6 separate regions of the Homo sapiens genome follow, and all the other regions are linked to region 1. The links are contacts of gene promoters, found by promoter capture Hi-C in blood cells and fetal thymus (Javierre and others, 2016). All regions are on one chromosome and are shown on one strand. The core of a region is centred on a gene start or on the middle of the fragment in contact, and the rest is flanking DNA. Distances in the headings are between cores, read along the strand shown.

Region 1 (5,049 bases), core at 1,778-4,277:
CTGTAATCCCAACACTTTAGGCAGCCAAGGGAAGTGAATCACTAGAGCCCAGAAGTTTGAGACCAGCCTGGGCAACATGGCAAAACTGTCTCTACCAAAAAAAATACAAAAATTAGCCTGGCGTGGTGGCGTGCACTTGTAGTCCCAGCTACGCAGGAGGGTGAGGCAGGAGAATTGCTTGTTCCAGAAGGTCGAGGCTGCAGAGAGCCATGACTGTATCATTGCACTTCAGCCTGGGCGACAGAGGGAGACCCTGTCTCAAAAAAGATTAAAAAAACAGCTAAAATCCTGTTAAACGTTCCTAAACTGTGTCTATATAAACGATCCCAGGCCAGGCACGGTGGCTCATGCCTGTAATCCCAGCACTTTCGGAGTCCGAGGCAGGTGGATCACTTGAGGTCAGGAGTTTGAGACCAGCCTGGTCAAAGTAGTGAAACACTGTCTCTACTAAAAATAGAAAAAATTAGCTGGGCATGGAGGCTCGGGCCTGTAATCTCAGCTACTCAGGAGGCTGAGGCACAAGAATCACTTGAACCCAAAAGGCGGAGGTTATAGTGAGCAGAGATCGTGCCACTGCACTCTAGCTTGGGCAACAGAATGACTCTGTCTCAACAGAATGAGACTCTGTCTCAAAAAAATAAAAATAAAATAAATGATCCCAAACTTCTACATTTTACGTATTTATTGTGAGACAGGTCTCCCTCTGTCACCCAGGCTGGAGTGCAGTGGTGCTTTCTGGGCTCACAGCAGCCTTGACCTCCCATGCTGAAGCGATCCTCCCACCTCTGCTGGAGTATAGGTGTGTGCCACCACGCCAGGCTGTTTGTTCTATTTTTTTTTGTAGAGATGGGGTCTCGCTATGTTGCCCAGACTGGTCTCAAACTCCTGGGCTCAAGTGATCTGCCCACCTTGGCCTCCCAGAGTGTCAGGATTTAACCCCCACACTCCACCGAGACTTTAAAACTCTGACTTCCATTCTTCTCTTTTTTTCTTTTTTAAGATGGAGTCTCGCTCTGTCGCTGAGGCTGGAGTGCGGTGGCACGATCTCAGCTTACTGCAACCTCCGCCTCCCAGGTTCAAGCGATTCTCCTGCCTCAGTTTCCCAAGTAGCTGGGACTACAGGAGCGCGCCACCACGCCCGGCTAATTTTTGTATTTTTAGTAGAGACGGGGTTTCACCTTGTTGGCCAGGCTGGTCTTGAACTCCTGATCTCATGTTCTGCCCTCCTCAGCCTCCCAAAGTGCTGGGATCACAACCGTGAGCCACCGCCCCCAGCCATGACTTCCATTCTTTACCATCCTTACTTCCTGAGCAGGCCATCCTTAACCTTTACACTTAAATAAACTCCTTTAAACTAAAATCTAACCTGTTTGACTATTGTAGATTGACAGGCTAATGAGAGTATGAACCTCCAAAGACTTCTGTGAGGGCTAGGTGCAGTCATATATGCAATGAACTCAAGTAAACAGCTGGCTGAGGAAACACCGGGACGCCTCCTCTGTGCTAAGCCCCATGCAGCATGCACACAGACACAGGCCCACCTCAGCCTCCCAAAGTGCTGGGGTTACAGGCGTGAGCCGCCTTTCCCAACCAATATTTTATATTTTTACACAAGTGACAGCATCCTATTCAGACTGCCCTATACTTTTTTTCCACTTAAAAGTATGTCTGGGCCAGACATAGTGTCTCACACCTGTAATCCCAGCATTTTGGGAGGCCGAGGCAGTGGATCGCCTGAGGTCAGGAGCTCGAGACCAGCCTGCTCAACATAGCGAAATCCCATCTCTACTAAAAATACAAAAATTAGCTGGGCACAGTGGTGTGTGCCGGTAATCCCAGCTACTCGGGAGGCTGAGACAGAATTGCTTGAACCTGGGAGGTGGAGGTTGTGGTGTGCCAAGATCGAGCCACTGCACTCCAGCTTGGGCGACAGAGCGAAATTCCAGCTCAAAAATAAATATATAAATAAACAAACAAACCAACTAAACCATCATTGCCCTCCCCAGCCCTCCCAGCCCAGAGACCCCCATCCCTTGTCAGCCATCCCCCCTTACCTTCTGGACAGGGACAAGTGTCCCTCATTTGGAAAAGAATTAAGGAGGGGTAACAGCAGACTAGGGAGGCCTGGGGTCCTCCACACGCCTGTGTGGGGTGACTTTGGCCCCCAGCAACAAGGCAGGCCTGAGGTCTGCAGAGGGAGGCAGCCCACTCCTCAGCCGGGGGCGTCTATCCTCCTCCTGGCCCCATCCCTCACCTGTGGGGGAGGCTAAGTGGGTGTCAGGGCCCTGTCAGAGGGTGAGCCACCCCCGGGGGTGCCCATCGGCCACCAGCCTCCCTTCAGTAGACACCCAGCCCAAGTGACAGCAGTGGCATGGCACTGCTGAGCACAGGGAGCCTCAAGGTCAGTGCCTGGCTCCTGGTATCCTCCGTGGTCCCCAGGACACCCCCACACAGAGGTCCCAGAACCCCCAAAGCTGGCACAAGAGCCCAGGAACACCCTGCCCAGCACCCTCCAGGTCCCTCTTTTAGGATCTGGGTGAGCTAAAGAAGCCAAAAGAAAGGCTGGGCGCGGTGGCTCACGCTTGTAATCCTAGCACTTTGGGAGGCCGAGGTGGGCGGATTGCCTGAGCTCAGGAGTTGGAGACCAGCCTGGGCAACACATTGAAACCCCATCTCTACTAAAATACAAAAAAAATTAGCCAGGTGTGGTGGCGTGCACCTGTAGTCCCAGCTACTCGGGAGCCTGAGGCAGGGGAATTGCTTGAACCCAGGAGGCAGAGGTTGCAGTGAGCTGAGATTGCATCACTGCACTCCAGCCCGGGTGACAGAGTGAGACTCCATCTCAAAAAAAGAAAAAAAAAAAAAAAAAAAAAAAAAAAAGAAGCCAAAAGAGGGTCTTCGGCCCAGCCCGCCCCTCCCCAACAGCCCTGGGTGTGGCAGGGAGCCTGACCAGTTCCCTCCAGCCTGCGTCATGGAGCCCTGGGCGTGGCTGCAGGGTTTAAAGAGCCGACCCACGTGCCCAGCAGCCTCCTCAGATCCGTTCTCTGCGCTGCCAGCTCAGGTGAGCCCTCGCCAAGGTGACCTCGCAGGTGAGCAGGCGTCCACTTTGGGGCTGCTGGGTGAAGGGGGTGGGTGCCCAAGAATTCTGAGTAATGAGGAGCCTGTTGAGGGGTCTGAGGACAGATATGGCTGCAGCAGCCGCTTGAAGGCCTCCTGCTTTGCACCCACTATCATATGGATGGTGGGTTGGGGGTTGGAGGAAACAGAAGCCAGCCCTTGGCTAAAGAATATATGAGCTGGTGGGGTATACCTCTGGTCCCAACTGCTTGAGATACTCAGGTGAGGAGATCACCTGAGCCAAGAGAGTTCAAGGCTGCAGTGAGCCGAGATCACGCCACTGCTCTCCATCCTGGGTAACAGAGCAAGACCCTGTCTCAAAAAAAAAAAAAATAGTAATAATAATAATAATAAAATAAAAAATGTGACCTAGAGTTGAGACCCTCGTATTCCAGGAACTCCAGGTTGGTGAAGGTAGAGAGACCAGTGAAGGCTGGGGGAAGCCAGCTTTGGAGACTGCTCCTAGCCCAAGAACCGATGTTCAGAAGCAGTGCCTAACAGTCTCTCCCTCCAGTGCCTCCCTCCCACTGCAGAAGGACCATGTGTTTATTTATGGATGTATTTATTTATTTATTTTGAGATGGAGTCTCCCTCTGTTGCCCAGGCTGGAGTGCAGTGCCAGGATCTCGGCTCACTGCAACCTCCACCTTCCAGGTTTAAGTGATTCTCCTGCCTCAGCTTCCCAAGTAGCTGGGAATACAGGCGCCTGTCACCACACTCAGCTAATTTTTGTATTTTTAGTATAGATGGGGTTTTGCCATGTTGGCCAGGCTGATCTTGAACTCCTGACCTCAGGTGATCCACCCGCCTCAGCCTCCCAAAGTGCTGGGATTATAGGTGTGAGCCACTGCGCCCGGCCTATGGATGTATTTATTGTAACAGGTTTTTAGTGCTTACTGTGTGCTAGGCATAGTTCTTAGGCTTGACAAATAGTAGTTCACGTAATTCCATCGCTATAACCTTATGAGGTTGCTACTATTCTGATGATCCTCCTTTTACAGGACACTGGTGAAGGAGCAGTGAGGAACCTGCAGAGTCACACAGTTGGTAAGTTGCTAAGAAGGGACCCAGCCCAGACAGCTGGCCCTGGATCTGTGATCTCATCAGGAGGCCAGAGCTGGGTACAGCAGATGATGACAATGGCTTCAGTATTGAAAACTTGACCACACTAGGCTAACAATATGCAGAGGGCTGGGAGGGGGCCTGCGCTCAAAGACTCAGCCTCCCTAAGGACAAGTAAATGGGGTCCTGGCTACTTCCAACCTGAGGGGGAAATGTCATACCACAGGAGGTCTATACTCTGAGAGCAGAATCTGGGTCTGCTGGAGTAGGGTCCCCTGCCAGGGCTGGCAGGGGAGGTCCTGGCTGCTGCAGTCATCTCATCCCAGGACTCAGCACTCCCTCCCTCCTCCACACCCTTGCTTTTGTGGAGGCTCTCTGGGAATTCAGACTGAGGGTGCTGGACTCTGGCCACCCCAGGCCCAGACCTTTGGGAACAATAGCCTGGGGCCTGATAACAATGCCCTTTGTGTGGGGTTAGGAAGGCAGGCTCCAGACCCTGACTTAGAATAGCAGCCACCTGACCCTGGGCATCTGATTACACCTCTCTAAGCTCCATTTTTTTTTTTCTTCTCTGAAATAGAGACAATAATAGTATCTTCCTCATGGGGAGGAGTAGGGGGTGGGTTTGTCGCATGGATTTTAACAACGCCTTCTACAGCACTTACTCTGTGCAGGCACAGTTTTGAGCTCTTAGCTTGTGCTTACTCAATCCACACAACTCCCCCAGGCCACCACCATCTCTAGATGGGAAGACAGAAAGTAGTTACTTTCCCAAGATCTCCCCACAAGCAAGTGTATCCTTGGGGTTTGTACACCTACTTTCACCATGGGGCTCTGCCTGCCCCCGCCCCTGCCTCCTCTCGCTGACCA
Region 2 (5,049 bases), core at 867-3,366, 240 kb before region 1:
TTAATGCTGCTACAAGATGTTTCTGTTTCTTAGATTCTGACCATGACTCATAAGCTTCTTGTCATTCTTCATTGCTTGTTTGTGGTCACAGATGCACAACACTCCTCCAGTCTTGTGGGGGCAGCTTTTGGGAAGTCTCAGCAGCTCTTCTGGCTGTGTTGTCAGCACTGTAACTTCGCAGAAAAGAGTCGGATTACCAAAACACTGCCTGCTCTTCAGACTTAAAGCACTGATAGGACTTAAAATAGTCTCATTCAAATACTGTATTTTATATAGGCATTTCACAAAAACAGCAAAATTGTGGCATTTTGTGAGGCCAAGGCTTGGATGCGTGTGTAATAGAGCCTTGTGGTGTGTGCGCACACACCCAGAGGGAGAGTTTGAAAAATGCTTATTGGACACGTAACCTGGCTCTAATTTGGGCTGTTTTTCAGATACACTGTGATAAGTTCTTTTACAAATATCTATAGACATGGTAAACTTTTGGTTTTCAGATATGCTTAATGATAGTCTTACTAAATGCAGAAATAAGAATAAACTTTCTCAAATTATTAAAAATGCCTACACAGTAAGTGTGAATTGCTGCAACAGGTTTGTTCTCAGGAGGGTAAGAACTCCAGGTCTAAACAGCTGACCCAGTGATGGGGAATTTATCCTTGACCAATTTATCCTTGACCAATAACCTAATTGTCTATTCCTGAGTTATAAAAGTCCCCATCCTTATTAGCTCTACTGGAATTTTCATACACGTAAATGCAGAAGTTACTAAGTATTAAGTATTACTGAGTATTAAGTAGTAATCTGTCAGTTATTAAAATTTGTAAAATCTATTTATGAAAGGTCATTAAACCAGATCATGTTCCTTTTTTTGTAATCAAGGTGACTAAGAAAATCAGTTGTGTAAATAAAATCATGTATCATAAAATGTGTAAACTTTTTTTCTTTTTAACATTCTAGTTGGAAACAACAGATTTCTGATTTTGTAGTTTCCATACAATATTTAAAACATCACAAAGAATTCTATCATGATAACCACTGAGGCATCAATAGTGGTCGAGGACTAGGGGCTCTGGAGATATCGCTGGCTTATCTGGTACATTTGCGTGTGAATAGGCACATTGATAGAAACTGAAAAACTCAGCTAACTCCACTGTTCAAGGAATCCCTTCCTTAAAAGTGTCCATCCCTAGAACAAAGCAGCAGCCAGTGTCAAGTTTAGGTCTTCACAGTTCTCTAGCAATTTGCTTGTTGCTGATCTTTTGAAGTTGGCCTTAGAGCTGTGGGAGACAGAATACAAAATGCCAAGTCCTGAGGAAGGCCATTAGAAGTGTGAGGGAAAATGCTGTCCTGAACCACCATGAAGCCTGACATACTCACTACTTCTGTTTATGTCTTCCCCGAGGAATTCTCTGAGCTTCTCATGCCGGGCGTGGAGCTGATGGGTCAGTGGGCAAACGGGAGTTGTTGTCAACATCAGTCTCATCTGCGATTGCATTGTGTCAGATGCCAACGGCCTGTGTCACACACATACACGTGTGTATACGTGGGCCTTTGCACGCCTCGCCAGGTGGTGTACATGCAGGCCTTGGCACGCCTCGCCCAGTGCCCGCCCCAGGCCCATGAGGCCCCGCTTCCCAGCCGTGGGTGTCTGTGTCTGCTCACGGCTTCCTCCTTCAGCCTGGACCACGGGCTGGAAGTGAACGTAATCTCCAGAGCCAGCTGTTTGCTGTAGCCTTTACCTCTGAAAGTAGAAATCTACGCCAAGAAAAGTTAATGCTAAAAGCCACCCCTAATGTAGACTCTACATTAGGACTATTTGTGTGTGTATGTTTGCTGTTTTATTTTCCCCTAAAAACACATTTTCTGCCAACCTTCACGAAGGATTTCTTCCCACCACGAGGCCAGCTTATGTGGGCAGAAATCTAGTTGAATGTGCCTGAGAACAGGGCTTGAACAAATACTTCATACACAAAAGAAATTTTGAAGGGAAAGCATAATTTCTAACATATAAAGAAAGCCTCTCCCGCAGGCAGGTGGAGCAGTTAGCGGTGCCTCTCTCTGCCTCGGGTGCGTTCACGCATAGTGTCTGGCACACCTTGTTTTATTGCTCTTTGCTTTATTGCGTTTTTCACAAATTGAAGTTTTGTGGCAACGCTGAGTCGTCGAGAAAGTCTATCAGGGCCATTCTTCCAACAGCCCACACTCACTTCATGTCTCTCTATCAGTACTGTTAAGCAGTAAAGAATCTTTAAACCAAGGTATGTACATTGTTTTTTAGACATAGTTCTGTCACACACTTAACAGACTCCAGTACAGTGTAAAGTGTAACTTTTATATGCACTGGGAAACCAAGAGACTTGTGTGGCTCACTTATTTGGGATCTTCAATCTTCTTTGCTTTACCGGAGTGGTCTGGAACAGTATCTCTGAGGTTCGCCTGTGTTTAGTGGTCCTCACAACTGGGGGGTGGTTCTAGGAAGTCCTAGGGAATCCTAACCTCTGTGGCCCTGAAAAAGCAGAAAGGTGGGTCTTCAGGGTGCATGCAGCAGTGTGCGTGGCCCCACACGTCTTCCACATGAAGATGCTCCAGGTGCAAGTCCTAGGCTTGTGCGCCTGCAGGGAAAGCACCCTCTCTGCCAGGGCTCCTGCTGTGGCCCTGTCCCTTCTCCATGGCAGCAGCCTTGACCGAAACTGTGTAGAGTCTCCCACCTCTTCAGGGAGCTGGGACTCAGGAAGGATCATCTTAGCTGAGGTCATAAGAACCTGCATGTAGAGAACTTTTCAGCGTGGGGCCACTACTGTGTCCTGCTGCTGAGGCCAGGTAGTGGCCGTCTGAGGGCTGCAAGGGCAGGCTGCTCCCAGGAGTTAAGGAGGCAAACACTCTGAACACCCTGGAGAAATCACAGTTTATCTTTGCAACTACAAATTTGAGTGCTGTGTCAAGTGACCAGGTATTTTTGCAGATGTCTCTGAGGTGTTAAATCACAGGACCTGGCCAAGCAAGATCTCTCAGCTGGACCCCGGGCAGGGGATCCTTTATGGGGGCACATCTCACTGTGGGGGCTGCAGAAATGTGAAGGTCATCATGGAGGGAGCTTGCGGTCTGAAACTACCCCAGCCACTGTGACTACCACACTGGGAGAGATCATAGACCTGCATCCTCTCAGATGACACTGAGCAGTTCAAGCTAAAAATGTGCTGGTAAGCAAGGTAAGTGAATTCTAAAGCTAAAAAAAATCATTTTTCATTTTCTGAGAAGGAAACAAGTTTGATATTTCATACACAGACAATATTTACCATGCAGACTGTCAATTTCTTGAATAAAAATATGAAATTCATTTAAAACATTCAAGTTTTTGTGTATTTTTCTCAATGTATTAACAGAAGAGCAACCTGTTTCTTGGCTGCTCGATTGTCTCACCTGCACATCAATCCTTTTCTATACTCTCCCATGGAAGAAGGGGTCTCCAGGGGCAAGAGACTTTGGTCAGAGGACTGCAGGGAGCCAGGCAGCACCCATGTCTTGGAGCCTCCCCTCTCCCTAGGGCGTGTGCCTTGCTCCATATTTTGTGCCTTTCTTCTGGGAGTTTTCAAGAGCTTGAGAATTTTCCTGGAGACTCTGGCCACAGGGCCTGAAGCTCTTAGATTGCTCAGAACCCCATGGTAAAGGAGCACACTGAGGGTTTGGGGGACTTCAGTGTCTGGGAAGAAAAGTAAGATCATAGCAAATGATTTCTAAAAATAAGAATGACACCAAGGATGGAAGAGCTGTAGTGTCTCACAAGACAGTCACTGGAAAAAGTAGAGGAAGTGTGGTTGGACACTATTTTTAAAGAGATATTCACACAATTACCTCTAATCTTTAACTTTGTAGAAATAAGCAAAGGCTACCCATATGAGAACCCACAGGAGCCACTGGTTCTGAACTTGCTATAGCAAGAGAGTCAGCCAGGATCACTTACTTTTGGCAGACACTCAAAAGCAGGCAGAGGAGTGGGAAAGCCTTATAGTAAAAAATAAAAGGTGGGGAGGGTGAGGAGAAGCCTTCAGGGATGCTGTGATTGGGGCTTGTTGGCCTGGGGAAGCTGGAGGCAGCTAACCAGGAGGAGGGCCTCTTATGTGATTGGTTTGGGGGACACAGGTGGCTTTCTCTGTTTAGTTCAGTGGGCAAAAAATAGGGAAGCTTGCAGTTCCTGACCAAGTCCTAACCATTCTGGGATAATTGTTACAGAGGCTGTGGTTTGGCTTCCTGGCTAGTTCTGCAGAGAATCTGATTCAAATCCTCTGGCCGTATGTGGTCTGGCCATTGTCTGTTTGCATGTTCAGTCTCTTAGTCCCCCTTGTCGGTCATTTTCTTGTTTGTAAAAGGTTGGCCAACTCAAGGAAGTCTAGAGATCCAGCTCTTCACTGCTCAGAGATTATTCAGTTGTCTCTCTGGTCAACCGTATTGTGAGATCTTGATCCTTCTGTTGTTATAGCATCACAGTGCTCATTTGACAAGAATGGGATGCAGTGGAACAACATCAGGACCACTATGACAGAAACAAGAGCAACTGTCCCTGTGAGACGCTTTGAACGCAAACCTCAGCTGACCAATGCAGGCCAAGAGCAAATCCCATATAGGCCATGAGGATCAACCTTAGAAAGCCAAATAGCTTTTGCCTCAAGGTGATGTGTGACCTGTTCTACCTTCTCTTGTTTCACTGATCCAGATGCAGTATTAGCAGTGGCAGAGGCCATCACCAACCAACAAGAAATCTACAGCAATGAGACTGTCCATCACTACTCATGCCAATGAGTTGAGACTGATAGGTGCCCCATCTAGGGAAGAAGGGGCATTGCTAATGACTTCTGCCAGGGTTAATGATAAGTTTATGACAACAGGATTCCCACAGATGAGAACATTGCTCTGATTGTTTGCATAAACAATGAGTCAGTAACTCCCCAGTTAGAGTGCTGAATAACCAAGGGTGATGTTACGGTTTTTGCAGTTTTACACCAACCGGTTTGTGGTAAATCGTTACAGCAACCCTAGGAAAACCAACGCACC
Region 3 (5,049 bases), core at 1,712-4,211, 210 kb before region 1:
CTTTGATTCAAGTTATAGCTGTGTAGACATAATAGTTAAAAGTATTATACATAGTTTATTGTTTTTTAAGGTATTTTAAAAAATTCTCCCAGGCCAGGCTCAGTGGCTCACACCTGTAATCCCAGCACTTTGGGAGGCCAAGACAGGCAGATCACCTGAGGTCAGGACCAGCCTGGCTAACATGGTGAAACCTTGTCTCTACTAAAAATACAAAAATTAGCTGGGAGTGGTAGGCAGATGCCTGTAGTCCCAGCTACTCAGGAAGCTGAGATGGAAGGATCACTTGAACCCAGGAGGCAGAGGTTGCAGTAAGCCAAGATTGTGCCACTGCATTCCAGCCTGGGTGACGGAGTGAGACTCCATCTCAAAAAAAAAAAAAAATTCTCCTAGTATTTACTGAATATTCTAAATTATATTAGTACCTCTCATAGTTCTCTGCATGTAGTAGTCACGTAGCTAAGTTTACTGAAGCCACAAACAAATTTGATATCCTTAAGGGAACAAAATTCTGATTGATTCTGATCTGTGTCTTTCAGAAAAATCACTACCAATATAATGGATTTTATATATCAGATTGCTTTATTCTGGATATCATGGTAACAATACAGAAAGTATACATAATTTCCCATTTCTGCAAGTAGTCATGACTGCTGAAGAAAGAAAAACTTAAAGCTACGGCAGAATTATTTTATGGAAATTCTGATTTTGTTTTTAATTTTTGATAACTTTTTACTAAAGGTATGAACACACAAAGAGCTTATTTTGTTAGGCAAATACACATTAATAAGAATGCCTAGAAGAGGACTGATTCTTCACACCCGGACCCACTGGTTGCTGTTGGGCCTTGCTTTGCTCTGCAGTTTGGTATTATTTATGTACCTCCTGGAATGTGCCCCCCAGACTGATGGAAATGCATCTCTTCCTGGTGTTGTTGGGGAAAATTATGGTAAAGAGTATTATCAAGCCCTCCTACAGGAACAAGAAGAACATTATCAGACCAGGGCAACCAGTCTGAAACGCCAAATTGCCCAACTAAAACAAGAATTACAAGAAATGAGTGAGAAGATGCGGTCACTGCAAGAAAGAAGGAATGTAGGGGCTAATGGCATAGGCTATCAGAGCAACAAAGAGCAAGCACCTAGTGATCTTTTAGAGTTTCTTCATTCCCAAATTGACAAAGCTGAAGTTAGCATAGGGGCCAAACTACCCAGTGAGTATGGGGTCATTCCCTTTGAAAGTTTTACCTTAATGAAAGTATTTCAATTGGAAATGGGTCTCACTCGCCATCCTGAAGAAAAGCCAGTTAGAAAAGACAAACGAGATGAATTGGTGGAAGTTATTGAAGCGGGCTTGGAGGTCATTAATAATCCTGATGAAGATGATGAACAAGAAGATGAGGAGGGTCCCCTTGGAGAGAAACTGATATTTAATGAAAATGACTTCGTAGAAGGTAATGTGAAAAATATGTTGGTCAATATTATGTTAGTAAGACAAATGCTAGTATTGTATGCTGGTATTGTATTGTAGTATTGTACTGTAGACAAATGCTAGTATTGTATTGTAGACAAATGTTAGTAATATAAGTCAGTCATTATCCACAGTATTAAAACACTGAAAGTTTTTGCACTTCATTGCACCAAGAATTTTAAGTGGCCTTCTGGAAAAAGGTATGAGATCATAATAAAAATGGAGAATAAGGACTAGGGAAATAGAATAAAACAGCTCTTGTTGCATGTGTATGATTTATATTCCTCACTTACCTGATCTTGGTGTTCTTTTTTATGTTTTTAAAAAATGTGTAAACTAAAACTCAAAACTTGAAAACCATTTGATAAAGGAAAGAAAAAATTAGTAGACTCTTAGCTATTTTTCGTATTGGAGGAAGGAGAAGCTCATGTCTGAACAAGGGGTTATACATAGTTTAAAAAGCACATTTGGCATTTGGAAAAGTAAGGAAATACCTGTTTTCCTAATACATATTTCAGAAAGGGTATGGAATTTTTATGTATCAAGATGGGATGTGACTCAGAGGTTGAAGAACACTGCTATAAAATTTAAGATATTGATTGATATTAACAGTAATAATTCTAGATCCCTACCCATCTCCTTTACACTCACTGCTAGACATTTAATTGCTGACTTAAACCATTTTAAAAATAAATGTTTCTTGAAAGTTCTCTTTGCTTGATTCTATAAACTGTGTTATCACAGTGGTCCCCAGCCTTTTTGGCACCAGGGACTGGTTTCATGGGTGACAATTTTTCCATGGGATGGTGAGGATGGTTTTGGGATGAAACTGTTCCACCTCAGATCATCTGGCATTAGTTAGATTCTCATAAAGAGCGTGCAGTGTAGATTCCTTGCATGTGCAGTTCACAACAGAGTTTGCTCTACTTTGAGAATCCAGTGCAGCCACTGATCCGACAGGAGGCGGAGCTCAGGCGGTAATGCTTGCCAGGCTCCCATCACTCACCTCTTGCTGTGCCGCCTAGTTCCCAACAAACAGGCCACGGACCAGTAGCGGTCTGTGGCCTGGGGGTTAGGGACCCCTCGTATAGCACATGTAGACTTTTTGACTCCAAATCATCATGGCCATCACTTGCTGCACTGTAGCATTATTATAATACACTGAGGCCCTTGGAGGCCATCAGGGAGGGCATTATGCTTTGCAGTGGCATTGCAGCTGCCTTTCCTTGTGGCCTCCTCTTTTTTCTGCTGTCACTTCCTGCCATTTTTGATGGATTATTTTTCTCAAAACTCTTCTGATTTTTCTGCAAGCTCAGCTTTTTGTCTTCTCACTGTATGTTTGTAGCTTATGGCAGAATTGGAAGCTGCGGAGGAAATAAGATAACTAAGTAACATGTGTAAAATGTCCTCACATCAGCTCTACCTAAAAAGAAAGGGAGCTGTGCCAGTTTTATATTCTGCAGCTCCTGCTTTTGTCTTATAACTCTCCTTGGATTCTGATACTTCAGGATTTTTCTCTAAATGGAACATATTCTGTTCCTCACTTTTCCTCTACTGTGCCACTGTCTGCCCACTGCAGGGAGAATAATTACTAATAATTAGTAATGACAACTAATTCCTATCCCTCTTCTAAACTTTAGCTCAGATATCACTTCTTCTGAGAAGTCATCTGCAACCTCAGGTCTAAGACAGCAGTACTTCTGTGTGCTCTTGTCACCTGTACATTCATACTGCTTGTCACAGTATGTGGCATTGCCCATTTCCTGGTTTGTGCTTCCTACTAAAGTGTAAGCCTCAGGAGGGTTGGGACCAAGTCTATTTTATTCACCATTTTATACCCAGATATTTACTGAGTGACTCACACATCTGTAGGTCTAACCTTCTTCTCTCTCCTGAGCGCCATACTTAAAAATCAGATTGCCACTGGGCGCAGTGGCTCACTCCTGTAATCCCAGCACTTTGGGAGGCCGAGGTGGGCAGATTATGAGGTCAAGAGATCAAGACCATCCTGGCCAACATAGTGAAACCCCGTCTCTACTAAAAATACAAAAATTAGCTGGGCGTGGTGACACACGCCTGTAGTCCCAGCTACTTGGGAGGCTGAGGCAGAAGAATTGCTTGAACCCGGGAGATGGAGGTTGCAGTGAGCCAAGATTGCACCACTGCACTCCAGCCTGGTGACAGAGTGAGACTCCGTCTAAAAAAAAAAAAAAAAAAAAAAATCAGATTGCCTCGTAGATGCGCATGCTTTTCTCTCAAAGGCATCTCAAATCACTGTGTTTAAATCTGTACCAATTTTTCTTTGACTTCACTCTAGTCAGTGATTTTATATGTATGTATGTATACACACATATATATATACAGATATATATATATATCACATAGCACTATATTGTTATTATTTGTCTATTTTTCTGTCTCCTTCACTAGACTGGCCCTGTCCTCAAAATTGAGACCATGTGGCACTCTTTGTATCACATAACTGACACGAAGGCACTCGATTTCTTTTAGTTGACCTAAACCAATAGAAATTTTGGCTCTTGGGTCTAGATTTTAATATTGCTAGAAGTAATTTCTTTATTTATCATGATTACCATATTGATAGGCTCTAGTATTTTTAAAAAGTCGTATGTAAAAAGGAACAATTGTCATTTGTAGTATATTTTATAGATTGAATAAAATAACAGAACAGTGAACTTTTTTTTTAACCTTTTCTTTTAAGCGAGTAATTGTTACTGTGCAGTGGGGATAAGTATTTTCACAAATAGGTAAAAATCCTGCAGGTCTAGTTTAATACCCTTTATGTTTAAGTGAGTAAAATCTGTCTTCCCATTGAATTTGTAAACTTTGACATGGAGACGTCTTTGTTCCTAACTCTTTCCTTTAGGTTATTATCGCACTGAGAGAGATAAGGGCACACAGTATGAACTCTTTTTTAAGAAAGCAGACCTTACGGAATATAGACATGTGACCCTCTTCCGCCCTTTTGGACCTCTCATGAAAGTGAAGAGTGAGATGATTGACATCACTAGATCAATTATTAATATCATTGTGCCACTTGCTGAAAGAACTGAAGCATTTGTACAATTTATGCAGAACTTCAGGTAACTGTCAGGGCTTAATGATTAAGCTACATTCTCCTAAAAAAAATCACGTTTTACTCAGATTTCCTTAATTTATCTTCACCGATTATAATTACTTAGAATAATTTTACAGGCTTTAGGGGAACTTTATTTTTTTATATTCTCTCTTTTTTTAAAGCATGTGTAGTATATTGTGTTATAGACAATTTGAACTATGAAATAAATTAAGAGTGACACCTATTAGAAACTAAATTTGATGGCCTTGATAATTGTTTTGAATTCATTTTAAGACAAGTTGAATTTTTAAAAAATCAACTTTACTAAGGAATAATTTACATGCAGTAAAATCCACATATTTTAAGGATATAGGTATCATGACTCTTTTTTTATTTTTATTTTTTTTTTTGAGACAGGGTCTCACTCTATCACCCAGGCTAGAATGCAGTGGAGTGAGCACAGTTCACTGCAGCCTCAACCTCCTGGGCTCAAGTGATCCTCC
Region 4 (5,049 bases), core at 1,849-4,348, 180 kb before region 1:
TTCCACTCACCTTGTTCTTAAAGATCGTTATGGCTATCATAGGCTTTGTACTTTCATATAAATTTTAGAATACGCTTATTAGGTTTCATAAAAATGTATGAATTTGATTAGAATATCATTGAATCTGTAAGATCACTTTGGGGAGTCTTTATGATATGAAGTCTCCCAATCTATTCTATTTGGCTTTATTGTTTTTCAATTACATTTTATAATTTTTCACACTGTGGACTTACACATGCTGTTTTTCAGATTCTTCATAGTTACTCTGCATTTTTGATACCATTGTACCTTATCTTTTATTGTGTTACTGGTGTTTAGAAATCATTGATTTTGCATGTTAATTTTTGTGTTCAGAAACTTTGCCAAAAACTGTTAATTCTAGTAATTAGAATTCTTTTGCATTTTTCTTGTTTTACATCATATCATACATATGAATAGTGAGTTTTGTTTCCTTTCCATTTTTAGGTCTTTAGTTCTTTTTCTTGTCCTCCTATGCTTGGTAGGATTTGTTGTGCAATGCTGATGGAAGTGGTAATAGTGGGCTCCCTGCCCTGTTTCTGATTTCAAGCAGTGCTTTCAGGGTTTCATCAGTAAGTGTGATGTTTGCTGGAGGTGTTTTCGTAGACAACCCTGTCAACTTAAGAAACTTCCCTTCTGTTATTACTTAGTGAGTTTTTATCCTACCTAAGAGCATTTATCAGATACTTTTACTACATCTGTTGAGATGTTCATATACTTTTTCCCCTCTTTTAAAGTATTAAATTGATGAATTAATAGATTTTCTCAAGTAGCTTTGCATTCTTGGGACAAATGCCAGTCAGTCATGATGTGTTATTTTTATTTTACATTGTTTGATTTGGTTTGCTTTCATATACATACATGTAAGTATTCACATTTACACATCTCATATGTATTCATGTCGGGGGTGTGGGTATGTATATACTTCAGGTGTTTTTAATCTATGTTCATGAATGAGATTGCCTATGACTTCCCGTTCTCTTCCTTGTTGGGCATTTTTGTTTATTTATTTGTTGTTTTAATTGACGGGATCTTGCTCTGTCTCCAAGGCTGGAGTGCAGTGGGGGCGATCATGGCTCACTGCAGCCTCAACCTCCTGGGCTTAAGTGATCCCCCTACCTCAGCCTCCCAAGTAGCTGGGACCACAGGCACACACCCCTGCACCTGACTCATTTTTGTTGTTGTTGTTTTTGTTTGTTTGTGTGTAGAGACGGGGTCTTGGTTTGTTGTCCAGGCTGGTCTCAAGCTCCTGGTTTCAAGTGATCTTCCCACCTTGGCCTCCCAAAGTGCAGAGATTACAGGTGTGAGCCACCATGCCTGGCCCTCATTAGGCTTTTCTGTTGAGGTTATACTAGCTTATAAACTTAAGTTACAAGTGTTCCTTCTTACTCTGTTTCTAGAAAAGTTTTGTAAAATTAGAATTAATTTCTTCCTTGAATATTGAACTGCCTGGAAGAACGGCCTGAAAGCCACTTGGGCATGAACTTTTCTATCTAGGAAGATTTTTGATCAGTTGTTCAATTTATTTAATAATTATAGAACTATTCAGACTTTCTATTGTTTGTAGAATAAGCTTTCATTGAGTTATTTTGGGTAAATCATAATTTTCTAGGAATTTATACTGATAAATTTGAAAATTCAGATGAAATCAATATCCTCCTATTATCTGTGTGATATGTATACGATTTATAGTGATATCCTTTTTTTCTCATTCCTGATATACTTATGCCTTCTATTTTTTCTTGATCAGCTTTGCCAGGAGCAGGCAGATTTTTTTCAATCCTTTTAAATAACCCTTACCAGCCATGTATGAGAGATCAGTTGCTTTACCTCCTCCCCGACACAGTATTTCCAGTGTTTTTAATTTAAACTCTTTAATTATAATTTCTAGTGGGTGTGTACAGTTCTTATTTTCATCTTAGTTTATAATCAGGGAATGATGTCAAGTACCTTATCATATGCTTATTGGCCATTTAGATATCTTCTTTTGTGAAATGCCTGTTGAAGTTTTTCTGCCTTTTTTAAAAAAAATTAGTTTGATTTTTTTTTTAGTTGATTTGTGGGGGTTACTTCTGTATTCTGAATTTGAGTCCTTTGTCAGATTTACATATTACACATACCTTCTCCTAGCAACAGCCTCTCTTTCACTATGTTAATGGTATCTGTCAGTAAACAAAAGTTCTTAATTTCAATAAAAACCAATTTTCTTTTATGGTTAGTGATTTTGGTGTCCAATTTAAGAACCTTTCCTACTCCAGAATTTTTTTTAATTCTTTTTTTGACACCTCATTGCATTGCCTTTCATATTTAGGTCTGTGATCCATCTGGAAATCGTTTTGTATATGGGTTACAGGAAGAGTCAAGATCCATCCTTTAGTTTTTCTTTTAGGGAAGGTCTGTGGATAGCAAACGCCATTTAGTTTGTCTGTAAATATCTTTATTATCTCTCATTTAATAAATAGTTTTAAAAAGTAGAGAATTCTAAATTGGCTATCATTCTTCTTTTTAGCACAATGAAGTTACTATTCCACTGTCTCTTGGCTTCAGTTATTTCTGCTGTGAATCATCAGCGTAACAGCCATCATCCATTGAAAGCAGTCCACTCTCTTCTTTTCTGTTCTGTGTCACTATGATACATCTGCATGTGGGTTTGTTTTTTTTCTGGTCCTGCTTGAGATTCTTCGGGTTCCTTGGATTGTTACTCTGAAAAATTCTCAGCTGTTTTATTTTCAAAAATGATTCCTGCCTCATTGTCTCTTTGCTTCTCTAACTCTGATAACATGTTAAAACCGTTGTGTCCTCCATGCCTCAACCTGTTTCTTGTTTTCCAATGCTTTATTCTGTGTTAGATTCTGTTAATTTCTTCAGAATTATGATCAGATTTGGAAAATAACCAAATAGAGCATCTAGAAATGAAAACTACAATAATTGAATTTTTTAAATCCAGCAGATGGGTTGAACAAAATTAGACACAGCTAAGGAGGTTTTTTTTTTTTTTTTTTGAGGAGGAGTCTCGCTCTGTCGCCCAGGCTGGAGTGCAGTGGCGCCATCTCTGCTCACTGCAAGCTCCGCCTCCCGAGTTCACGCCATTCTCCTGCCTCAGCCTCCCGAATAGCTGGGACTACAGGCACCCGCCACCACGTCCGGCTAATTTTTTGTATTTTTAGTAGAGACGGGGTTTCACCATGTTAGCCAGGATGGTCTTGATCTCCTGAACTCATGATCCGCCCGCCTCGGCCTCCCAAATCCTCCCAAAGGATTACAGGCGTGAGCCACCGCGCCAGGCCCTAAGGAGGTATTTTTTTAAAAACTGGAATATAAGTCAGAATGTTTGTTTCTACTGGATGTTTAGGGGCAGTACCAGTTCAGGGCCAGTTCAAAGAATTCTTAGCTTGAAGTTTGTTGGACCAGTGTTGATTTGTGCTGCAAAATTTTGTGAAGCTCACTGACTCATCATTATCAATTATGAAGGTAAAATTTCCCTGCCTCCATTCAGTGCTGAGATTCAAATCAGGGAGCTTTTCCTAGGTCCCTCGGTGGGGTTTGGGTGGAGCGCCTTATTTCAAGCTCACTGCTGCACCGAGGGGTGGCTCTTTGGGATGCCAGCTTTATGGGCTGGGGTCTCCTATTTGATTCTTCATCTTGAGGTGGGCCCTGGACTTTTTTCTCTACCCCTGTGGACTTGAAAACAGCAGCTCATGGTCCTTACCCTCAGGGCAAAGCAGGCTGCAGAGCTTCCCTGACTTCTCTGGCTCCCTGCCTTCACTTGGATTTTTAAATTTTGTACAACTTTATCTGTTGTTTTCAGTGGGCACGCACTTCATCTCTCACACTGCCAGAAATGCACAAGTGGCGCAGTTTACTTTCTTACACTCTTCCCTGCACTGTTGCTGAACCACTCAGCCCTGCTGAGCGCGCCTGAGCATCTGCACCTGAGCATCCTGGTGCTGTGGGTAGATACTTGTGGGGTGTTCAGCAGCCCCTCACCTTCCTCACAGTATCCTGACTTCCTTGTTGGGAATAAAGATTGAAATTGTGTTAACGTGGTCTAAACTGGCCTGCAGATGGATTGTAAGTTTTGCTTCTTGAAGTTTTGAATGCAAATTTGTGGGAATTCTTTCCCATTTATATTTTTATGCTGGTTGGATTGAACAGTGACTGTTAGGTGAACAGTGACATGTTAGGTGAATGCTAACATGCTTCGTATTGACCAGGACCCCAGGTGTTCCTTTGAGAAGGGGGCCTTTGCTTCACTTTTCCCAAAAGGTGCTGTGGCCTTTTGCAGAAGTGCTGCTTGGCGTCCGCAGCACCAGGGCCAGTCCATAGCAAGCACCGACTGTGCTGACAATGAACCAGGTGCCTGCTCTGTCTGCCTTTGCTTCTTAGAAGCCTTTGCTTCACTTTTCCCAAAAGGTGCTGTGGCCTTTTGCAGAAGTGCTGCTTGGCGTCCTCGGCACCAAGGCCAGTCTACAGCGAGCACTGACTGTGCTGACAATGAACCAGGTGCCTGCTCTGTCTGCTACCACGGCCCTGCAAGAGAGCCGTGATCAGATGAAAAACATGGAGGCTATAAGGTAAACAGCTTGTCCAAGCTTCTCCAGCTGGGGGCTGAAACCAGCTCTCACTCCAGTTTCCCCGGCTCCTTGCTCCCTCCCTGCTGCCTTGTGCCTCCCTGAGGAGCAGGGTCTATGTTCTCGTATGGGCGTGGTCGGTGTGTGTCACAAGCAGTGTGTGTCACAGAAGTCTCCATGGCTTACTACAGATCCTTAGCTTATCATTCTGCTACATCTGACACTCTGACATCCATTTGTTCCTGCAACGTTTGTGAAGGGTGACACTCAGCCATCACACAGGGATGTACTGGTCACAAGGCACACAGACTATCACCCACCGAGTGCTTCTCACACGTACTGTGTGGCCCAGGGATTGGACTAGGCCCCCACCGTATTGCCAATTCAGGAGGTGTGTGGAGAGGCCTAAGAATGGACATTCAAACAGGTTCCCAAGGACCCACACTTGAAAGCCACTGCC
Region 5 (5,049 bases), core at 1,487-3,986, 150 kb before region 1:
GGCTCTCCAGTCCTCACCCTCCTCTCTCTCAACCCTTGTTCCCTCTGCAGCAGCACAGTCCTTGGGAGCACATGCTGGCCCCATTCCTGCAGCAGGGCAGGGAACTCCCTGCAGCCCCTGCCTCTCCATCCTCCAGGCCAGGCAGGCATCAGAGGGCAGGGGCCACGCTGTTTCACATAAGCCAAACTTCAAGTACTGCGAAGAAGGGCCGGATTTACCTTTGTGAACCTTCCGGGCTGGCCAGGGCAGTCTCAGGGCCTGGCCAAGGGCCTCAGGCCGGACTCCAACAAGGAGGCGGCTGCCATGGGAACCAGCACGACAGCGCCTCACAGGGCGCCCGCTCCAGAGGCCTGGCCACAGGCGCGACGCGGATAATTAAAGCTTTGTTACAGACACATGATTCATTTTTTCCTTCTGAATTCCCTTCTATTACCCAATACAATTTGAATTGACTGAAGGAATCTGGTCGTCTCCTCTTCACGCTCCTCAGATTCTGCCCAGTCTGGGTTTCTGCCTCTCCCTTTTCCCTTTCTGTCCAGTCAGCTTCTTCTGGGCCTGCTCAGGGCATAGAACATCATTGTCCACCAAGAACCATTCCATTCTTGAGACTCAAGAGGCCCAAGGATGCAGCAGGTGGGACTTCAGAGAATCCCTGCCCTTTCCCGGCAGGCGCTGGCAGCCTGGCCTCCCACTCCAGCCGCCTGGGGAGCCCTGCTCCCCCCTCCCCTTGGCCTCGCTCCCTCTTCGGCCAACGCCATCAGATTCTGCAGGGGTAACGAGAGCCTCCTGTAGATGGGTGGGCAGCCCTGTGCCTCCCAGGGACAGAGCTGGGCACAGGCTTGGATGGGGTCATGTGCAAACTCACGCAACCTTGGTAGCCAGTTCTGTCCTTTCCAGGGAGACCCCTAGGGTGCCACGGAGGAGGGGGCTGGGAAGCAGTGTGCAGATTCCACCCCAAGTGAAATCACCCCTCTGGGGTCCCTGTCCTAGATGGGTTGTCCACTGATGATGACAGGACAGAGCAGGGTGTCCTGCTGCTCATCAGTTCTGGGCAGTGGCCAGGGCGCCTGCTGGCTCCAGTAGGAAGGCACCAGCAATCTGTCCTGCCCAGGCCCACCCGGGCACACTGCCCACATCCAGCCAGCCCTGGAGTCAGCCCCGAAGCAGCAGCCCATGACCAAGAGAGAGGGACAGTGAGCGGGCAGGGTCAGGGCTGAGGGCCTCCAGAGGCAGGAAGGGATGGCCAGCCGCGTAGGCCACACACAGACCTGTCCCGGGTGAGCTGCACCTCCGCCCTCTACAGCCACCTAGGGTGCTGGGATATGGAATAAAAGACATATGGTTCTTTTACTTTTAAATGATAACTAATTACGCTGAGCAAAGATTTTTCCTTTGTGTTCCAAAACAAATAAAAATCCATTTCCCTCACTTGAATTGTCCTCCTGGCAGATGGCTGTGGGAGCAGGGAGCTCTCTCTGGGCCAGTCATGGGGGTAGGGGAAGGGGGCACCCAGCCCCCTGCTGGGTCACAGAGCCATGGGCATGCTCAGTCTGGCAGCCTCTGGGAAACAGCACCCAGACACACGTCCTGACTGCCACCCCCATGCCGTGGACACAGGCAGCTCTTCTGTCACATGCTGTGCGTCTGTCCCCTGGCCCTGGGGGCTGGTAACCGGTGGTTAGACACTGACCAGCCCCAAGAGTACCAGTGCACAGGAATGTGTAATAATGTGTTGTGGTCCTTAGGGTCTCAAAATAAACGGCCAGGCACAATGGCTCACACCTGTAATCCTGGCACTTTAGGAAGCCGAGGTGGAGGATCGCTTGAGCCCAGGAGTTCAAGACCAGCCTGGGCAACATAGGGAGATCCCTGTCTCTACAGAAAAATTAGCCAGGGGCAGTGGCATACACCTGTAATCCCAGCTACTCAGGAGGCTGAGGTAGGGGGATTGCTTGAGCCCAGGAGGTAAAGGATGCAGTGTGCCAAGATCATACCACTGCATCCCTGGGTGACAGAGCCTGGGCAACAGAGCAAGACCCTATCTCACCGGGTGTGGTGGCTCACTCCTGTAATCTCAACACGATGGGAGGCCAAGGCAGGCAGATCACTTGAGGTCAGGAGTTCAAGACCAGCCCGACCAACATGGTGAAACCCCATCTCTATTAAAAGTACAAAAAATTAGCCAGGCACGGTGGTGCACACCTGTAATCTCAGCTACTCCAGAGGCTGAGGCATGAGAATTGCTTGAACCTGGGAGGTGGACGTTGCAGTGAGCTGAGATCACGCCACTGCACTCCAGCCTGTGTGACAGAACAAGACTCTGTCTTAAAAAAAAAAAAGGGGGGGGAGTACTTATGACAAGTAACTCAGCTTAGAGTGAAGTTGCTGAGCCCTCAGAGTGATTAGCATAGGTGTGGTGGACTGCAATGATCAGATGATATCTGCTGTGGCCAGGCATCCCTGAGACCCAACAAGAAAGTGATGTCAAAAGGCACCTGAAGATGATGGCCAGGGACACTCCTGCGGAGGGCCATAAATACAAAGAAGCTGCTCATGACCAAGACACCTGCAGAAGCACTGCCCTCGAGAACTCCGAAGCCTCTTTTCCATTGGAGGCCACCAGACGCCCTGCTGGGAGAAGAGGAGTGATCCCATCCCTCCACCCGGGGGTCTGCGGTCCCTCTGCTCTGAAGGAACTTGGACCCTGGGCAATCAGCAGCTGGTCTCCCCATCCCCCGACACTGTGGTTCGCTCCCGCCTCTCTTATGACTGCCTGGGTGTGTGGAATATATTTGCATGATTGTTGGGGTGTGAAAACGTCCCAATAAACCATGAATTTGTAAGCATTTAATTGGCTGCTGAGTCATCCTGAAACCTCCCCACATCAGTTAGTGCCACCAGGCTGATTCGAACCTAAGCCAGACACAGCCGTCTCCATGCCTCCCCAGGGTGGCCCTCCTGCTGCTCCCCCCTTCTCCAGATGAAGGAACAGAGGCCCAAAGGGCCTCAGTCACCAGCGCCAGTCTGGGAAACTGGTGGAGCTGGGATTGGAACCCTGTCTGATGTGCTACCCAGGGCAACCAGCACAGGGCTCCGGAGAAGGAGAATGGTGTGAGGTGACAGCAGGGGGAGCCAGCCAGGCCTGTGGGATGGACAGGGCCTGACCCAGGAGGAGCTGCCCCTGCTGCATTTGCAGGTTAGGCTGCAAGCGCAGGGCAGCGAGGTGGGGTGGGGGAAATCAGGCCAGGGTCCAAGGGGCCCGTGCTGCATTCTAGCCCCTGCAAAACTGCCCACAAGCCTCACCACCAATGAGTGGCGTAGGCAGAGGGCCTCCCACCTGCTGGGCCCTGTGACACCATCTGGGGGCCTCTGAGGCCCTGCTCTCCACTTCCCAGATGAGATACAGGTGTGGGGCTGAGGACAGGGCACAGCTGGAAGCCGCCCAGGCCTCCTGCCTGCAAGTTGGCCCTTCCTGTCCGTGTGGCCCGGGCACATACAGTCATGCGTCCATTCGCGACGGGGATACCTCCTGAGAAATGCATCTTAGGCGATTTCGTCGTTGTGCAAACCCCAGAGTGACTTACACAGACCAGGATGGCACAGCCCACTACACACCCAGGCTCCGTGGTACAGCCTATTGCTCCCGGGATCCCAACCTGCACAGTGTGTGACTGCACTGAATATACTGGAGGCAACTGTAACACAACGGTAAGGATTTCTACAGCTAAACATAGAAAAAGCACAGTGACAATATCATATTATGAATCTCAGGGGACCACTATGTGGTGCATGACGCTGTCTTTTTTCCCAGCACACCCTCCTAACACTCTCAGAATCTCCAAAGTGGTAAGTGTCTTCTGTGTGCTGATGGACTTCTGGACAGCCTGGCTGGGGGCTGGTTGTCAGGGGAACCAACCATGTGATGAAAGGGTGGGGACTTTCACTCCCACCCCCAGCTCTAGGGACAAGAGAGAGGCTGAAGGTTGGGTCCATCACCAATGGCCAATGATTCAGTCAGTCACACCCACATAATGAAGCCTCCACAAAATCCCAAAAGGAGCGGCTTCAGAGCTTCTGCGTAGGCAAGCAGGTGGAGGGCCCTGGAGTGCAGTGCCTGGGAGGACAGGGAAGCTCCACGCCCCTTCTCACATGCCTTGCCCTGAGCATCCCTTCCTCTTACTGTTCATCTGTGACCACTGTAAAAACCTGCATAGTAAGTGGGTAAATGGAAGCAAGTGCTTCCCTGAATTATGTGAGCTGCTCTAGCAAATTAATTGAATCTGAGAAAGGAGTCCCAGGAGTGGTGATTTGCTGGGTGGGTCAGAAGCACAGGCCACAACCTGAGACTTGCAAATGGCATCTGAAGTCGAGGGAGGGGGACAGCCTTGTGGGACCAAGCTCTCAACCTGTGAGATCTGACTTCGCCTCCAATATTGTCCAAATTGAATTACAGGGCACCCAGCTGCTGTCTTAATGTTAGAGAATCTGGTATTAGAATGTTGTGCTAAATGGCTGAGAGTGGAGAGTAAGAAAAACACTTTATTGGTTTTTTTTTTATAACCCTATTAGAGGTAAACTCCCAAGAACACAAAGCTATGCCCAGGAAACACAGTGAGCACCTCTTCATGCTAGATTCACAACCAGAAATTGCCCAGCAAGTGGTAGATGCCCAAGGGATGAAAATATTGCAGTGCATGCTCTCTGGACAGGGGACCAAGATATGTGAAAAACTGTGTCTAGAAACAGAAAGGCACATTCTACTGTCCAGAGTCTCTGCCACATGGTCGTATGTTATACCACCAATGAAACCCAGTAAAGTCCCCAAATAGAAGTGTGCAGGTGAGAGAATGACATAAGCACAATGTACTATAGTTGGATATTAATATATAACTGATAAACAAAATACCCACTTCATAAAAAAAATCCCTAAATCACACCTGTGTTAAAGATTCAAATTCCAATTACAGATGTCAGAAAAATAACCTTTATAGGAAAACTCTGTATCGAATTTGATATGGCCAAAGCTGTACTCACAGAAAAGTTCATAGA
Region 6 (5,049 bases), core at 666-3,165, 130 kb before region 1:
CCTGTCCTGCAGACACTCAGGCACAGGCAAACAGAGACCCAGCCATTGTACCTGTGGGCGGGGATCTGGGCTCAGCACAGCCCACCTGCCCATCAGGGGAGTGGGCCACACAGGCCAAGGCGGCCAGGCCTGACGCAGGTGTGCCTGAGACCCGCCTTCAGGAGGATTAGCCATCATAGATTGAGACCCGCCTTTGGGGGGCGGAGGGAGGGGGGGTGCTGCAGATTGAGACCTGCCTTCAGGAGGGTTTGCCATCACAGAGTAACACCTGCCCCTCAGGAGGGTTAGCCATGTCGACTTAAAGGGGTCTTCAGGGGAGTTAGCCGTGGCTAGTTTATGTGTGCCTACAGGAGGGTTAGCCGCCGCAGATTGAGACCTGCCTTCGGGGGTGTTGTATCGCAGATTGAGACCTGTCTTCAGGAGGGTTAGCCATCGCAGAGTCAGACCTGCCTTCAGCAGGGTTAGCCATCGCAGATTGTCTGGTTTCCTACCCTTGAGCTGCTCAGTGTACTTCACCGAACTGCAGTACTTTAGATAGCTCTACTACTACCGTTTTTGACAGTTTACTTATATTTCATTTAAGTTTAGTGGGGGAAAGCCTGGGTTCCCCAGCCTCCTTGTTCACTGCCCCAGCCCCATGTCCACATACACTCCTGCAACTCTGCAAAGACACCAGGGTGCTGTGAGGGTCCCGTGGGTTTCCCCAGGTCCTCTTTTGGCAGGTCCCTATAACATGTTGCAGGGCAGGGGAGAGGCTGTCTGTGATGGGCAGGGCCCCTGACTGCCATTCGGGCAAGTGGGGATACTGAGGGACCCTGAAAGATATCAGGGTCAGGCTGGTAGGGCATGTGGGCAGCAATGCATCTCAGGGAGTCCTGCCCCCTCTTCCATGGGAAGGGCCCACAGCTGCCATCCCCATGAGCCAGAGAGGATGACACTCTAGGCTGGTGGAAAGGGACCTGATATCAAATGGAAATGAGGCAACCCACGAATACACAAGTCTGCACGTGCTTCTGTGCATGTGTCTGTTCCTAGAGCAGACACAAATGTTCCAGAAGTTTCTTTCTTAGTCATTCACAGAATCACAGGCTCTCGAAGAAGGGGTATTATTCATTCTAATCAGTGGTGCCTGGAATGATGCCCTGTAGTTTCTTTACTTGCCCCAGACACCTGCAGCTCCCTGGAGAGAGCCCCTCAGCTCCTGGCAACTCCATACGTTCTGTGGCAGCTGCAGGGTATTCCACTGGGTAGGTGGGCTGCCACACATGTAAGAGGTCCTCTAGCAAAAGACACCAAGGTGCTTTACAGTCTTTGGCAACGAAAAACACTCCTGCAATGGGCATTATTGATGAAAAGTTTTTATTCAAATGTGTGACCACATATAAAAGATGAACTCCTAATACTTGATGTGCTGGGTCAAAGGTTATGATCATTGTAAGTTTAAAGAGACATCCCAGAAGTGCTTTCAATAGAGTATAGCCAGGTAGTGAAAATGGTGGAGTAAGGACCTCCAAAAACCCTCTCTTCCATAAACGCAACAAGAAAACCAGCAAAAAACAAAAAGGTCAGAATCCACATTTTTAGAACTTCCAAAATTAACTAAACGCTTGCAGAAATCTTAGGAGGATTTATTCAAAAAACATAACTGAATCTCAGTAAGAATTGCAAATTTTATAGCACTTGAACTTGCCCTAGTCCCATCCCTGACTCTCTATCCCAAGTGCCTTGAAAAGTAGGACCCCACATTCATCATGAAAACCACTGGCGTAGCAGCCCCTGGAGGGAAAACAGCAATGGAACTCTTTCAAAGCTTCATTCTCAGAAAACTGTCATTATTTGACCTGTCCAGTAGTTCCCATGGAGACCCCACTTACAAGGATGTCTGTATTTGACCTGACTCAGAGGTCTCAAGTACAAAAATCATATTCCCCAAGGTTCATTGTCAAAAACAATTACTGGTATTTAATTTCACAAATGCCTGAAGCAGTAGATAACAGTGAAGCAAGCAATAGACTAACCAGAAAGCTTAAAAGGAAAGTTTCAGTAATGACATGATCATAGGGGTTTTGAAAAACTGCAGTGCATTCCTGAGAATCTAGAAGGTCAAGTGCATGCTCAGGGCTGTGCACATGCTCAGAAAAGTACTTGGGAAACCCTAAGCACTCACTTCTGGCTGACTTTGAGTCTCTGTGCAAGCAGGAAGAGAAGACTAAGGCAGAGTTATCAGCTGCTTAGCTGAGAGCTGAAAGCATACCCAAAGACACAGAGCCCCTTAGCGAAGACTGAGAACTTTATTGACTCCAGGCACTTATGAAAATTTCTTTCCAATCATTATTTGACCGCTAAGATAACTGAGCAGAGATTTCAGTGCCACACACAAAAGAATACAGACTTTGCAGAAGTAATCCAGAAATGTCACAAAACAAACAACCATTACTACAATAAACAGCAGCAACAACAAACCCCAAAGAGTGGGGAGAATCTGATTTCCAGAATTGACTTACTAAACAAAAACTTTCAATCAGCTACTTTAAGTATATTTTTTAAAGACTGAAGGAATTGATGTTTAAAGAACTAAAGGAAAGTATGGAAGCAATATATCAAACAGAGAATATCAATAAAGGAATACAAATTATAAAAAAGAACCAAGCAGAAATTCTGGTGTTGAAAACTAAGTAAATGAAATGAAACATAGCAAGAGGGGCTCAACAACAGGTTTGAACAGAGAGAAGAAAGAATCAGTGACTTGAAAAAACGTCCATTGAGATTATCCAGTCTGAGGCACAGAAAGAAAAAAGAAAGGAACAAATAAATAGAGCCACAGACACCATAATGGACACTATCATATGTATAAGAAGAGTCTCAGAAAAAGAGGAGAGTGAGAAATAAGGCAGAAAAAAAATATTAGAAGCAATAATGGCTAAAATTTTCTAAGTTAGATGAAAATATTCATCTCCATATCCTAAAAGTTCAACAAACTCCAGGTAGATTTCTTATCAGGAACCATGAAGGGCAGGAAGCAGTTGAGCTGACACGTTCAAAATACTGAAAGAAAAGAGGTGTCAACCATGAATTCTTTATGCAGCAAAATTGTCATTCAAATATGAAAGGGAAATTACCTGACAAATAAAATAGAGAACTCGTCAGAAGAAGACCTGCCTTATAAGAACTACTAAAGAGAGTCCTTCAGGCTGAAATAGTAGGACAATAAGCAGCAACTTGAAATCATGTGAAAAAATAAAGAGGACCATTAAAGGTAACTTTACTGGTTTTATATTTATTGCTATATATTAGTAAATATAAAAGATAGTATAAACACATTTTATGCACTTAACTCTATTTTTCTCCTATTTGAATTAAAAGACAACTGGTCTATGACCATACTACCCTGAATGTGCCTGAATTAAAAGACAACTGCATGAAACAATAATTATAAGTATAGATTGATGAGCACACAAGGTATAAAAATGTAAATTTTATGGCAGTAACAGCACAAAGGAGAGGAGAGGCAACAGAACTACAGAGGAGCAAAGTTTTTGAATACTGTTGCAATTGAGTTTGTATTAATCTGAACATTGACATGTACATATAACATATACATAGTTATTTGTTAAGATATTAATTATAACCCTACAGGCAACAGGTAAGAAAATAACTCAAAAATATACAATAAAGGAAAAGACAGAAATTAAAATGGTACACTAGATAATATCTAAATATCTATTTAACACAAAAGAAGAAAATAATGAAGGAATAAAGGAACAAAAATGGCATAAGACATAAAAAACAAATAGCAAATCCTACCTTATCAGTATTTACATTAAATGTAAATGAATTAAACACTCCAGTTAAGAGTCAGAGATTATCAGAGTTAAAAAAAAAAACATGATCCAACTACATGGCTTTCTAAAATAGACCCACTTTAGAGAGAAGAACACAAATAAGTTGAAAGTGAAAATATGGCCGGATGCAGAGGCTCACGCCTGTAATCCCAGCACTTTGGGAGGCTAAGGTGGGTGGATCACGAGGTCAGGAGATTGAGACCATGCTGGCTAACACAGTGAAACCCCATCTCTACTAAAAATACAAAAAAATTAGCCAGGCATGGTGGTGGGCACCTGTAGTCCCAGCTACTCAGGAGGCTGAGGCAGGAGAATGGCGTGAACCCAGGAGGTGGAGCTTGCAGTGAGCCAAGACTGCGCCACTGCACTCCAGCCTAGACGACAGAACGAGACTCCATCTCAAAAAAATAAATAAATAAGAAAGTGAAAATATGAAAAAAGACATTCCAAGCAAAAAGTAATCAAAAGAGAGCCAGAATGGCTATATTAATATTAGAGAAAATAGACTTTAGGACAAAAATTGTTACTAGAGACAAAGAAGGATATTTTATAATGATTAAAGGGCTAATCAACAAGATATAACAATTACAAACAAATATATACCTAACAACAGAGTCCCAAAATTCAAGAAGCAAAAACTGATAGAATTGAAGGAAGAAATAAGACAATTCAACAAAAATAGTTGGGGAATTCAATAGCCCCACTTTCAATAATGAACAAAAACTCTAGACAGTAGGTCAGTTAAAAAAAAATCGCTCCCTCTCCCTCTCCCTCTCCCTCTCTCTCCCTCTCGCTCTCGCTCTCCGTCTCCCTCTTTCTACCGTCTCCCTCTCTTGCAGAGCCTGGACTGTACTGCCATGATCTCGGCTCGCTGCAACCTCCCTGCCTTGGGCTCCGGTGATTCTCCTGCCTCGGCCTGCCAAGTGCCTGGGATTCCAGGCACGCGCCGCCACTCTTGACTGGTTTTTGTATTTTTGGTGCAGACAGGGTTTCGCTGTGTTGACCGGGCTGGTTTCCAGCTCCTGGCCTCGGGTGATCTGCCCACCTCGGTCTCCCGAGGTGCTGGGATTGCAGATGGAGTCTCGCTCACTCATTGCTCAATGTTGCCCAGGCTGGAGTGCAGTGGCGTGATCTCGGCTCACTACAACCTCCACCTCCCAGCCGCCTGCCTTGGCCTCCCAAAGTGCTAAGATTACAGCCTCTGCCC

The links. The method cuts DNA at HindIII sites, captures the fragments that hold promoters and counts their contacts. A CHiCAGO score of 5 or more calls a contact.
Region 2: a fragment that was not itself captured here is called in contact with the fragment with the promoter of FXYD4 in region 1 in 1 of 17 cell types (fetal thymus); the score reaches 5.4 in fetal thymus.
Region 3: a contact is called between a fragment that was not itself captured here and the fragment with the promoter of FXYD4 in region 1, in 1 of 17 cell types (neutrophils). The highest score is 9.2, in neutrophils.
Region 4: a contact is called between a fragment that was not itself captured here and the fragment with the promoter of FXYD4 in region 1, in 3 of 17 cell types (neutrophils, naive CD8 T cells and monocytes). The highest score is 10.4, in neutrophils.
Region 5: a fragment that was not itself captured here is called in contact with the fragment with the promoter of FXYD4 in region 1 in 2 of 17 cell types (neutrophils and naive CD8 T cells); the score reaches 6.0 in neutrophils.
Region 6: a fragment that was not itself captured here is called in contact with the fragment with the promoter of FXYD4 in region 1 in 4 of 17 cell types (total CD8 T cells, non-activated CD4 T cells, naive CD8 T cells and 1 more); the score reaches 7.6 in total CD8 T cells.

The regions. Positions count from the first base shown.
Region 1 is chr10:43,368,609-43,373,657 of GRCh38, forward strand. FXYD4 (FXYD domain containing ion transport regulator 4) reads left to right here and starts at 3,028. Exons shown (of 9, transcript NM_173160.3): 1 at 3,028-3,089; 2 at 4,119-4,164; 3 at 4,907-5,049. The HindIII fragment of the contact is 9,288 bases long and covers 1-5,049 here.
Region 2 is chr10:43,129,427-43,134,475 of GRCh38, forward strand. RET (ret proto-oncogene) reads left to right here. Exons shown (of 20, transcript NM_020975.6): 20 at 1-925. Among named protein-coding and RNA genes, the nearest start is that of CSGALNACT2-DT, 6.4 kb to the right of the region's middle. RefSeq lists enhancers at 908-1,508, 1,509-2,109. The HindIII fragment of the contact is 4,128 bases long and covers 53-4,180 here.
Region 3 is chr10:43,154,361-43,159,409 of GRCh38, forward strand. It overlaps CSGALNACT2 (chondroitin sulfate N-acetylgalactosaminyltransferase 2), which reads left to right. Exons shown (of 8, transcript NM_018590.5): 2 at 537-1,450; 3 at 4,355-4,571. The coding sequence starts at 790. Among named protein-coding and RNA genes, the nearest start is that of CSGALNACT2, 18 kb to the left of the region's middle. The HindIII fragment of the contact is 6,189 bases long and covers 1-5,049 here.
Region 4 is chr10:43,188,345-43,193,393 of GRCh38, forward strand. No RefSeq gene overlaps it. Among named protein-coding and RNA genes, the nearest start is that of CSGALNACT2, 52 kb to the left of the region's middle. RefSeq lists a silencer at 2,871-3,100. The HindIII fragment of the contact is 3,019 bases long and covers 1,590-4,608 here.
Region 5 is chr10:43,218,458-43,223,506 of GRCh38, forward strand. All of the region lies in intron 1 of RASGEF1A (RasGEF domain family member 1A), which reads right to left. Among named protein-coding and RNA genes, the nearest start is that of RASGEF1A, 46 kb to the right of the region's middle. The HindIII fragment of the contact is 4,714 bases long and covers 380-5,049 here.
Region 6 is chr10:43,237,895-43,242,943 of GRCh38, forward strand. The region is part of intron 1 of RASGEF1A (RasGEF domain family member 1A); the gene reads right to left. Among named protein-coding and RNA genes, the nearest start is that of RASGEF1A, 27 kb to the right of the region's middle. The HindIII fragment of the contact is 215 bases long and covers 1,809-2,023 here.